Linked DNA regions of Homo sapiens: regions 2 and 3 are each linked to region 1. Evidence: promoter capture Hi-C in human tissues and cell types (Jung and others, 2019). All regions are on one chromosome and are shown on one strand. The core of a region is centred on a gene start or on the middle of the fragment in contact, and the rest is flanking DNA. Distances in the headings are between cores, read along the strand shown.

Region 1 (2,953 bases), core at 195-2,694:
TCTCTCTGGGAGGCTGGGGAAGGCCTTCTTCCAAGGAGACGGAGCTGGGCCAGACGAGCCCCGAGGCCCCTTCTTAGATTCTCAGGGTTTATGAAAATGCCAATAAGACAAACTGAGGCACTTAATGGAGCTAATGCAGCAAGGCAGCCCTTGGGCCGGAACCAGGACCTGGGGCTTTTCATCCGGGTCTATTACTGGACCACACATCTACAAGTAACAAATAAACGAGCAGAGATTCCGTTCCAAACTCTCGGCCCAGTGTATTCCTTTCCCAGAGCTCTCTGGCTGCTGTTGCAAGATGACCAAAGGATGCTGTCACTGTCCTCAGTCTTTTTATTGGGGCGATGGAGAATGAGGCAAGGAGGGGCTGGGTGGCCCCGCAGATGCCCCATGACACCATCATTCGGCAAGGTTATGCATTTGACGAATGCCCTGCAGTGGAAGGAGCCCAGGCTTCTCTTCCTGTTTTTGATGTTTACTTGGGGGTTGATCTTGTGCGAGTTTCTTCAGCTCCCGGGACCCTCAGTTTCCTCATCTGCAAAATGGAGTTAATACAACAGCAAAGCTGCTGTGGAGGTCCCATGAGCTATTACAGGGCTTTGCACCCTTAAAAATGCGGTTGAGGAAGTACCGATACGCCTGCCTCAGGGGATCTGGGGAGGGCTGGGCTGTCCCCATGCCTGAGACCAGGCAGGCCCGTCTTGGAGGGGCGGTGGCCAGCGTCCAGGTGCTGCCAGCTTCCTACCCCTTCAGCCTCCTGCCCACCACTGCTCCCTTGGCTAGAACGAAGCCGCGTTCCCGACAGACAGGCTCACGCACGGTGATATCCGTGGGAGTGCGGGCGAGCAGCCCCTCCTCGCCGGACCCCGGGGGCTTCGGGCAAAAATGGAGAGCAGGCAGAGGTCACATCCTCCTCCTCTTCCTCACGCTCCCGGGCTGCGTGCCCACAGGGGCACAGCCCTGTGCGCGGTGCCACCGGGGGCCATCAGGCTGGGTTAGAGGAAGGCCCGACCTCCGCGCAGCAAAGAAAACAAACACAGATGTGTTTGGCTGGGACCGGGAGGGAGAAAGTGGCCCCCTTCCCCCGCCCGCGCGCTCCCCCGGGCGTGAGGCTCTCCGGGCGGCGCGGGGCGCGGGCGAGGCTGACAGTCCCCGGCGGCCCCTCCTCCCCCACGGGGTGCGCGCCTGGCCCGGCCCAGCCCCCTCTCCGGGGTTTCCCCGGGTGCTCTCCTCGCTTTCTCTTTGTCTCTGCTGTTCTTTCTCGGGCTCCCGGGTTCCCACCCGCCTGTGCTCTCCCTCTCGGGCGTCCGGGCCGGTTCCCTTTAACTTTCTTCTTTCCCGGGGTGAAAACTTTGCTCGGAGCTGGCGGCAGCTCGCGGACGTTATTGGCCGGCGCCCCGCCCGGCGGCCCCGCCCCCCGCCCCCGCGCTCCCCTCCGCCCCTCACTCCCAGCGCGAGTGGCGGCGGCGGCGGAGCCTTCGGGGGCGAGCGCGCGTGTGTGTGAGTGCGCGCCGGCCAGCGTGAGTGTGTGTGCGCCCCGGGCGCGGGCAGGGCAGCACTCCGAGCTCGGCGGGAGCGGCGGGAGCCGGGCGGCCGCGTAGTCACTCGGGCGAGAGAGGCGGCGGCGGGGCCGGGACCGGGGCTGGGGCTGGGGCAGCGGCGGCCGCGCCGGGCATGGAGCTGGCAAGCCCGCGCTGAGGCGGGACGCGCCTGCTAGCAGCGAGCGAGAGGCTCTCCGGCGACCGGCGCGCGGGCTCCCCGGAGGGGCCAGGCAAACTTTTCTTTCTCTTTTGCCCCCTCCAGAGGTAAAGTCCCGAACGCGGACTTTCCGGCGGGGACGCGATCGGGGGGCATCTGAGAGGGACCCCGGGCTGCGAGACGAAGGGGCGCGGGCCGTGCAGAGTCGGGGTCCCCCAGCTCTCCTGCGCCCGAAACTTGGGGTGCGAGGGGGGCTGGTCGCGGACGGGGAGACCGGCTCAGGCATGCCCCTCGGGCGGCGTGGGGGCGGCGGTGGCGGGGAAGCAGAGCGTTCTCCCGCCGGGCGGGGAAGAAGGGGCGCGAGCGGTGCGGACTTGGAGGGCCCCGGCTTCGCCGCCCGCGGGACTTTGGGGGAGAGAGGCGGGCAGTCGGCTGCGGGGTGGGTGCCCAGGAAGCCGGGCGTTCTCCCGCATCTCCGCTCGCCACCCCGCCGAGAGCTGGAGGGCGCGGGGCGGGCTGGCTGAGCGCAGCTCCCTTCTCTCCGCAGGCGCCTTCTGCGGCAGGCGGACAGATCCTCGGCGCGGCAGGGCCGGGGCAAGCTGGACGCAGCATGATGCGCGCAGTGTGGGAGGCGCTGGCGGCGCTGGCGGCGGTGGCGTGCCTGGTGGGCGCGGTGCGCGGCGGGCCCGGGCTCAGCATGTTCGCGGGCCAGGCGGCGCAGCCCGATCCCTGCTCGGACGAGAACGGCCACCCGCGCCGCTGCATCCCGGACTTTGTCAATGCGGCCTTCGGCAAGGACGTGCGCGTGTCCAGCACCTGCGGCCGGCCCCCGGCGCGCTACTGCGTGGTGAGCGAGCGCGGCGAGGAGCGGCTGCGCTCGTGCCACCTCTGCAACGCGTCCGACCCCAAGAAGGCGCACCCGCCCGCCTTCCTCACCGACCTCAACAACCCGCACAACCTGACGTGCTGGCAGTCCGAGAACTACCTGCAGTTCCCGCACAACGTCACGCTCACACTGTCCCTCGGCAAGAAGTTCGAAGTGACCTACGTGAGCCTGCAGTTCTGCTCGCCGCGGCCCGAGTCCATGGCCATCTACAAGTCCATGGACTACGGGCGCACGTGGGTGCCCTTCCAGTTCTACTCCACGCAGTGCCGCAAGATGTACAACCGGCCGCACCGCGCGCCCATCACCAAGCAGAACGAGCAGGAGGCCGTGTGCACCGACTCGCACACCGACATGCGCCCGCTCTCGGGC
Region 2 (3,182 bases), core at 279-2,778, 280 kb after region 1:
GGCGGAGGTGGAACTTTCTGACCTCTGTACTTTGGCCAGCCCAGCCCTGGCACCCACAGGCACAGGAGAGTTCCTGGCAATGGAAAGGCTGATGAGGAAATCAGCTCAGGTTTTCCTAAGTGCTCTTCCAACATCTTCCTTCCACTGCCACGTGCACTCCTGCTTTGTCTTTCCCTCTTCCAAGTAACTCTCTGTGAGCAAATGTACTTCTGTTATTCCACTTTAAAAACCAAAAAAACCGGGCCAGCCATGGTGGCTCACGCCTGTAATCCCAGTACTTTGGGAGGCCAAGGTGGGTAGATCACCTGAGGTCAGGAGACTGAGACCATCCTGGCCAACATGGTGAAACCCCGTCTCTACTAAAAATACAAAAATTAGCCGGGTGTGGTGGCGGACATCTGTAATCCCAGCTACTCAGGAGACTGAGGCAGAAGAATTGCTTGAAACCAGAAGGCGGAGGTTGCAGTGAGCCGAGATCACGCCACTGCACTCCAGTCTAGGCAACAAGAGCGAAACTCTGTCTCAAAAACAAACAAAACAAAACAAAACAAAACCAAACCAAACCTGAGTAGCATCTGTCCTTGCAAGCATTCCTTTGCAACTCCTCAGAAGATCCAGGCTCTTCTAAGTAGCAGCAGCAGATGTGGCTTAAAACAAGATGCTTGAGGGGAATTTACAGTCTGTGACCAATTAGCCAGATGCACTCACCTTCCCACCTGGTTTTTCTCTTGTCGGTGTTTTGCGAGCCCTCTCTCACTTTCCTTGATTCTCTGTTGGTAGAAGGTCATTTCCCTTTGGCCTAGGAGTTTGCAGTCTGAGGCCATCTTGGGTTCACATCTGCTTCTGGACTTCAGATGGCACTGGTGACCAACACAAGCCTTCTCCAACACACACTCACGCAGGCACAGTGACCTTTTCTCCCGGATGCATAGCTCATCATAGTTTTCCACATTTTTTTTGTGAATTCCAACTTCAGATGGTGCAAATGTGGTCACATGGTTAATTCCCAATCTATGCTATACAGAATGCTGAGCCTTACTGTGTCTGCATGTCATTTCCCAAGCAAACCGAGGAACTGTATTTCAGCCACAAAACCTCGATGATTTGGAAGGAAAAGAGGGGATTGCCTGCGTCCGTCTTCATTCTTACGCTTTTTTTTTTTTTTTTTTTTTGAGACAAGAGTCTCACTCTGTCGCCCAGGCTAGAGTGCAGTGGCGCGATCTGGGCTCACTGCAAGCTCTGCCTCCCAGGTTCACACCATTCTCCTGCCTCAGCCTCCTGAGTAGCTGGGACTACAGGCGCCCGCCACCACACCCGGCTAATTTTTTGTATTTTTAGTAGAGACAGGGTTTCACCGTGTTAGCCAGGATGGTCTCAATCTCCTGCCCTCGTGATCTACTGCCTCAGCCTCCCAAAGTGCAGGGATTACAGGTGTGAGCCACCGTGCTCGGGCCATTCTTACATTATTTAATACTGGTCATACCACTTCCTGCTTCCAGTCAGTGAAGTAGAGTTACCGCTGTGTCTAGAAGCTACCGCTTTAGGCTATTTGTTACTCTAAATGTAATGTAAACTCCTTTCCTTTCAGTTTGGGTTTGCCTCAATCAACTACGTTTGCCAACACTTGGAGATGTAGAGAGCTTTAAGTTGTTATCTCGTCAAGATCTTGGAACCTAGGCAGGGCATGAACATCAATCACCCAAGATAAACATTTGTTTCACCAGTGTTTATAAATTTCTGGGGTTGAAAATTCCCCAATTAGGCAGGGTGCGGTGGCTCATGCCTATAATCCCAGCACTTTGGGAGACCGAGGCGGGCGGATCACCTGAGGTTGGGGGTTCGAGACCAGCCTGACCAACATGGTGAAACCTCGTCTCTACTGAAAATACAAAATTAGCCGGGCATGGTGGCGCATGCCTGTAATCCCAGCTACTTGGGAGGCTGAGGCAGGAGAATCACTTGAACCTGGGAGGAGGAGGTTGCGGTGAGCCACGGTGGTGCCATTGCACTCCAGCCTGGGCAACAAGAGCGAAACTCCATCTCAAAAAAAAAAAAAAAAAGAAAGAAAGAAAGAAAAAGAAAAAGAAAATTCCCCAATTATTTAAAAAACCTGTGAGTCATGACCTCCCCAAATCACAATTATGGTAAACTCCCCTCCCCCTTTTATTTTGCTTCAGCTAGTTTGAGTTGGGTTTTGAACCTTAGAAATGTTTTGTAGTTTTCTTCGTAGATCTACTTCTTGTTGAGCTTTTATAGCTATCGTGAATGCAATCTGTTCTCCATCTGTGATGTTTTCTACCTGGTTATGAGTGTTATATGAGAATACAATTTTTGTATATTTATTTTATATCTGGCAAAGGACTTGGCGTTCTTAGTTTTTCAGTTGATTCTCTTGAAATTTCCAAGTAGACAACTGGAAATATTTGCAAGTAAGATGTTAATTTTGGCTTTTCCTCTTTATTTATTTTGCATATTGCAGAGGTTGTGCCTTCCAAATTAATGATATGTATTAGTTATGAGATGGGACATTCTTATTTTGTTCTTTTTTTTTTTTTTTTTTTTTTGAGACGGAGTCTCACTGTCACCCAGGCTGGAGTGCAGTGATGCAATCTCGGCTCACTGCAAACTCCACCTCCCGGGTTCACACCATTCTCCTGCCTCAGCCTCCTGAGTAGCTGGGACTACAGGAGCCTGCCACCACGCCCGGCTAATTTTTTGTATTTTTAGTACAGACTCGGTTTCACTGTGTTAGCCACAATGGTCTTGATCTCCTGACCTCGTGATCCACCCGCCTCGGCCTCCCAAAGTGCTAGGATTACAGACGTGAGCCACCACTCCTGGCCCCTTATTTTGTTCTTGATCTGATCCTCTAGTTTTTCACCATTAGGCAAAATGATTAGTAATGTTTAGTTTGTGATAGTTATTATTTAGCATGATAATACAGTGTGTGTCCTTTAATTCCTAGTTTCTGAAGAGTAATTTTTAAAAAACAACAACAACTAAGAACAGATACTGAGCTCTATTAAATGCCTTTTTAGTATCTACTAAGGTGATTACAAGGCTTTACTCCATTTATTAATGAGATGAATCATGTTAATATGTTTCCTAATATTAACCTCTCTTTGTACACTTGAGATTAATTTGGCTTGGGCACAGTGCTTTACTTTTTTTTAATTTTTATT
Region 3 (3,346 bases), core at 800-3,299, 360 kb after region 1:
CACCCTTGTGAGACGAAGCACCCAAAAACAATTACTGTGATTACTACTGCTATTCCCATCATTTATCATCACGTACCTTTGGGCAAGGCACTGTGCACCGGCAATACACAATTTAAACCTCACAAAAGTCTGCATCAGAATTTCTGCAGAACAAGCACCTGCAGCAGAACTGCTTGGTACACTTGTTAAATAATGAACATTCTTGAACTCCACCCTAGATCTACTCAATCAGAATCCCCAGGGGAGGGCCTCAGGATCAGTATTTTAAGCAAGCCCTCCAAGCGATTCTTATCTTGGCATATGAATCCCCATTTTACATACAAGGTATCAAGAGGTAAGGTGACTTGACAAAGATACCATCACTAAACATAGGATTTGAACTCAATTAAGCTTGTGGTTATTTTAAGACGGCACAAAAGCAAGTGAGATCCCCTTTAAAACCCGCCAACCAGTATAATGTTATACAATTTCCCAAACCATTAATCTCTGTAAACACACAGAAAGGACTTTTAAATTAAAAACAAAAACAACAACAAAAAAACAATGAATGATATGCCCTTTGAACTCCATTTCATTTTGACCAGATTTAACCATTGTTTAGCAATTTCAGTGCTTCATCAAATGGAACTGCCTGTATCAGAAGAGCAACCAAATCCCCACAGTAATTAGACAAACAGGAAACTCAGAGCAGAGTAAATCCACAAGCTATGACAGAAACAGAGCCATAACGTAGCTATCTCTTACCACAAGAGGCTGACTTTCTGTCCACCATGTTTACCCGCCTGGTTTCATTGCGAAGTTTTTCATCTGTGTTCTCCACTAGGTTGGCAAGGTCGTCAATTATCTCTAGAAAGGAAACATACATGATTACTATTCCTGAAATACCCCGGTTCACATCACAGTATCACAGCTGTGGTTGTTCATCCTAGCAATAATGATCTCGAGTGCAGTAACTGAAAAGGTACAGAACTCATGTCGATTCTTTGAAAACTGCAATTCTGATTGTAAAAGGAAAAAAAAAAGCAGTAGTAAAGAAGAAAACTGATTTAACACAATTCCAGCAGACAGGAGAAATGCCACATTCAGAGGAAAGAAAGCATGACCTGCCGAATTTATGCCTAGCCAAGCTGTCATTCAAGTATAAAGGAACAGACAGGCCAGGCACGGTGGCTCACGCCTATAATCCCAGCACTTTGGAAGGCTGAGGAGGGAGGATTGCCTGAGGTCAGGAGTTCGAGACCGGCCTGGCCAACATAGTGAAACCTTTTCTCTACTAAAAATACAAAAATTAGCCGGGTGTGGTGGTGTGCACCTGTAATCCCAGCTACTCGGGAGGCTGAGGTAGGAGAATCGCTTGAACCCGGGAGGCAGAGGTTGCACTGAGCCAAGATCACGCTGCTGCATTCCAGCCTGGGTGACAGAACAAGACTCCATCTCAAAAAAAAAAAAAAAAAAAGGAACAGACGGCACAGTAGACTTCAGGGACTACCTGGGCCCTTCTTGAGAAAACTACATGATGAAGAAATCTAGCCAATCAAAAGATAAATAAAGAGATGATGGAGAGAACCAAATCCATTTAAATACTGGACTAAGAGTAAACAAATACGTGGATTAGATAACAGAAAGGTACAGAAAGGTCACAACAGTACAATGTAATTCCAACTGAAAAATTAGTCAGTGGTTGCGAGTGGGGAAGGAAGGTGAAAAGAAATTGAAAGTGCTAATTTCTTCATCTCTCGCAACGAGGCATATCGAGCAGTTGAAAAGTTAATCATACAGAAACTTGTAGCCTTTTAAAATCACCAAAACTTTAATGTTTTTTGTTAAGCTTGAGGGATCTTTTAGTAATTACTATCTCTTGTAAAGAATCCTTGATGTGGGCTGGGCACGGTGGCTCACACCTATAATCCCAGCACTTTGGGAGGCCGAGGCAGGAGGATCACCTGAGGTTGGGAGTTCGAGACCAGCCTGACCAACATGGTGAAACCCCGTCTCTACCAAAAATACAAAATTAATCGGTCATGGTGGCGCATGCCTGTAATCCTACCTACTCGGGAGGCTGAGGCAGGAGAATCGCTTGAACCAGGGAGGTGGAGGTTGCAGTGAGCCGAGATTGCACCACTGCACTCCAGTTTGGGCGACAGAGAGAGACTCTGTCTCAAAAAAAAAAAGAAAAGAATCCTTGATGTGAAATTCATTTCTTTTTTAATTCTAATCTTTTTAAGTGAAATTGAGCCCTTCACAACATTTAAAATAGCATATATAGTATAGTACGATCTTAACTATGTAAAATTATTTGTATCCATCTTTTTATATTTACAAACCTATAGGGGTATATGTGGATAATATTAATCTAATGCTACTAATGATTATTTCTAGATGGTGGGATCCTGTGTGACTGCTGCCTTCTTCCTTGCATTTTTCTGTGTTGTTTGAATTTCTGTGTGTTTTTTTTTTTTTTTTTTTTTTGAGAGAGAGGGTCTTGCTCTGTCACCCAGACTGGATACAGGGTACCACAATAGCTCACTGCAGTCTTCAAGGCTCTAGCAATCCTCCCATCTCAACCTCCTGAGTAGCTGAGACTGTAAGCATGTGCCACCACTCCCAGGTTATTGTTTAAATTTTTTGTAGAGACCAGGCCCTGCTATGTCACCCAGGCTGGTCTCAAACTCCTGGCCTCAAGAGATCCTCTTGTGTCAGCCTCTCAAAGTGTTAGGATTACAACCATGAGTCACTGTGCCTGGCCTGAATTTCTTACAGTGAGCCTATATAGTCATGTGCCACATGACATTTCAGTCGATGACCGACCACATCTACGACAGTAGTACCATAAGTGGTACAGTATTATAATGTTATAATACCATATTTTTACTGTACCTTTTCTATGTTTGGATACAGAAACTTTTTTTTTTTTTTTTTTTTTTAGAGGGAGTCTCACTCTTGTCGCCCAGGCTGGAGTGCAGTGGTGTCATAGCAGCTCACCACAACCTCTGCCTCTCAAGTTCAAGCGATTCTTCCGCATCAGCCTTCCAAGTAAGTGGGATTACGGGTGCGCACCACCCGTAATTTTTGTATTTTTGTATTTTTAGTAGAGATGGGGTTTCACCATGTTGGCCAGGCTGGTCTCGAACTCCTGACCTCAAATGATCCACCCACCTCGACCTCCCAAAGGGCTGGAATTACAGGCGTCAGCCACTGCACCCGACCATATTTACCATCTTGTTACAACTGCTTACATGCAATAATATGCTGTACAGGTTTTCAGCCTAGGGGCAATAGGCCATACCATACATATAGCCTAGGCATGCAGCAGGCTTTACCATCTAGTTTTGTGTGAGTACACTCC

What was found. The method cuts DNA at HindIII sites, captures the fragments that hold promoters and counts their contacts. A contact is called where the count stands out against the background at its distance.
Region 2: a fragment that was not itself captured here is called in contact with the fragment with the promoter of NTN1 in region 1 in 3 of the 25 tissues and cell types used here (lymphoblastoid cells, small bowel and thymus).
Region 3: a contact is called between a fragment that was not itself captured here and the fragment with the promoter of NTN1 in region 1, in 2 of the 25 tissues and cell types used here (lymphoblastoid cells and pancreas).

Annotation. Positions count from the first base shown.
Region 1 is chr17:9,020,066-9,023,018 of GRCh38, forward strand. It overlaps NTN1 (netrin 1), which reads left to right and starts at 1,445. Exons shown (of 7, transcript NM_004822.3): 1 at 1,445-1,520; 2 at 2,246-2,953. The coding sequence starts at 2,309. RefSeq lists silencers at 807-856, 907-1,696 and an enhancer at 843-1,386. The HindIII fragment of the contact is 11,312 bases long and covers 1-2,953 here.
Region 2 is chr17:9,298,289-9,301,470 of GRCh38, forward strand. The region is part of intron 7 of STX8 (syntaxin 8); the gene reads right to left. Among named protein-coding and RNA genes, the nearest start is that of STX8, 280 kb to the right of the region's middle. RefSeq lists an enhancer at 2,800-2,869. The HindIII fragment of the contact is 8,515 bases long and covers 1-3,182 here.
Region 3 is chr17:9,377,808-9,381,153 of GRCh38, forward strand. STX8 (syntaxin 8) reads right to left here. Exons shown (of 8, transcript NM_004853.3): 7 at 745-846. Among named protein-coding and RNA genes, the nearest start is that of STX8, 200 kb to the right of the region's middle. The HindIII fragment of the contact is 4,928 bases long and covers 1-3,346 here.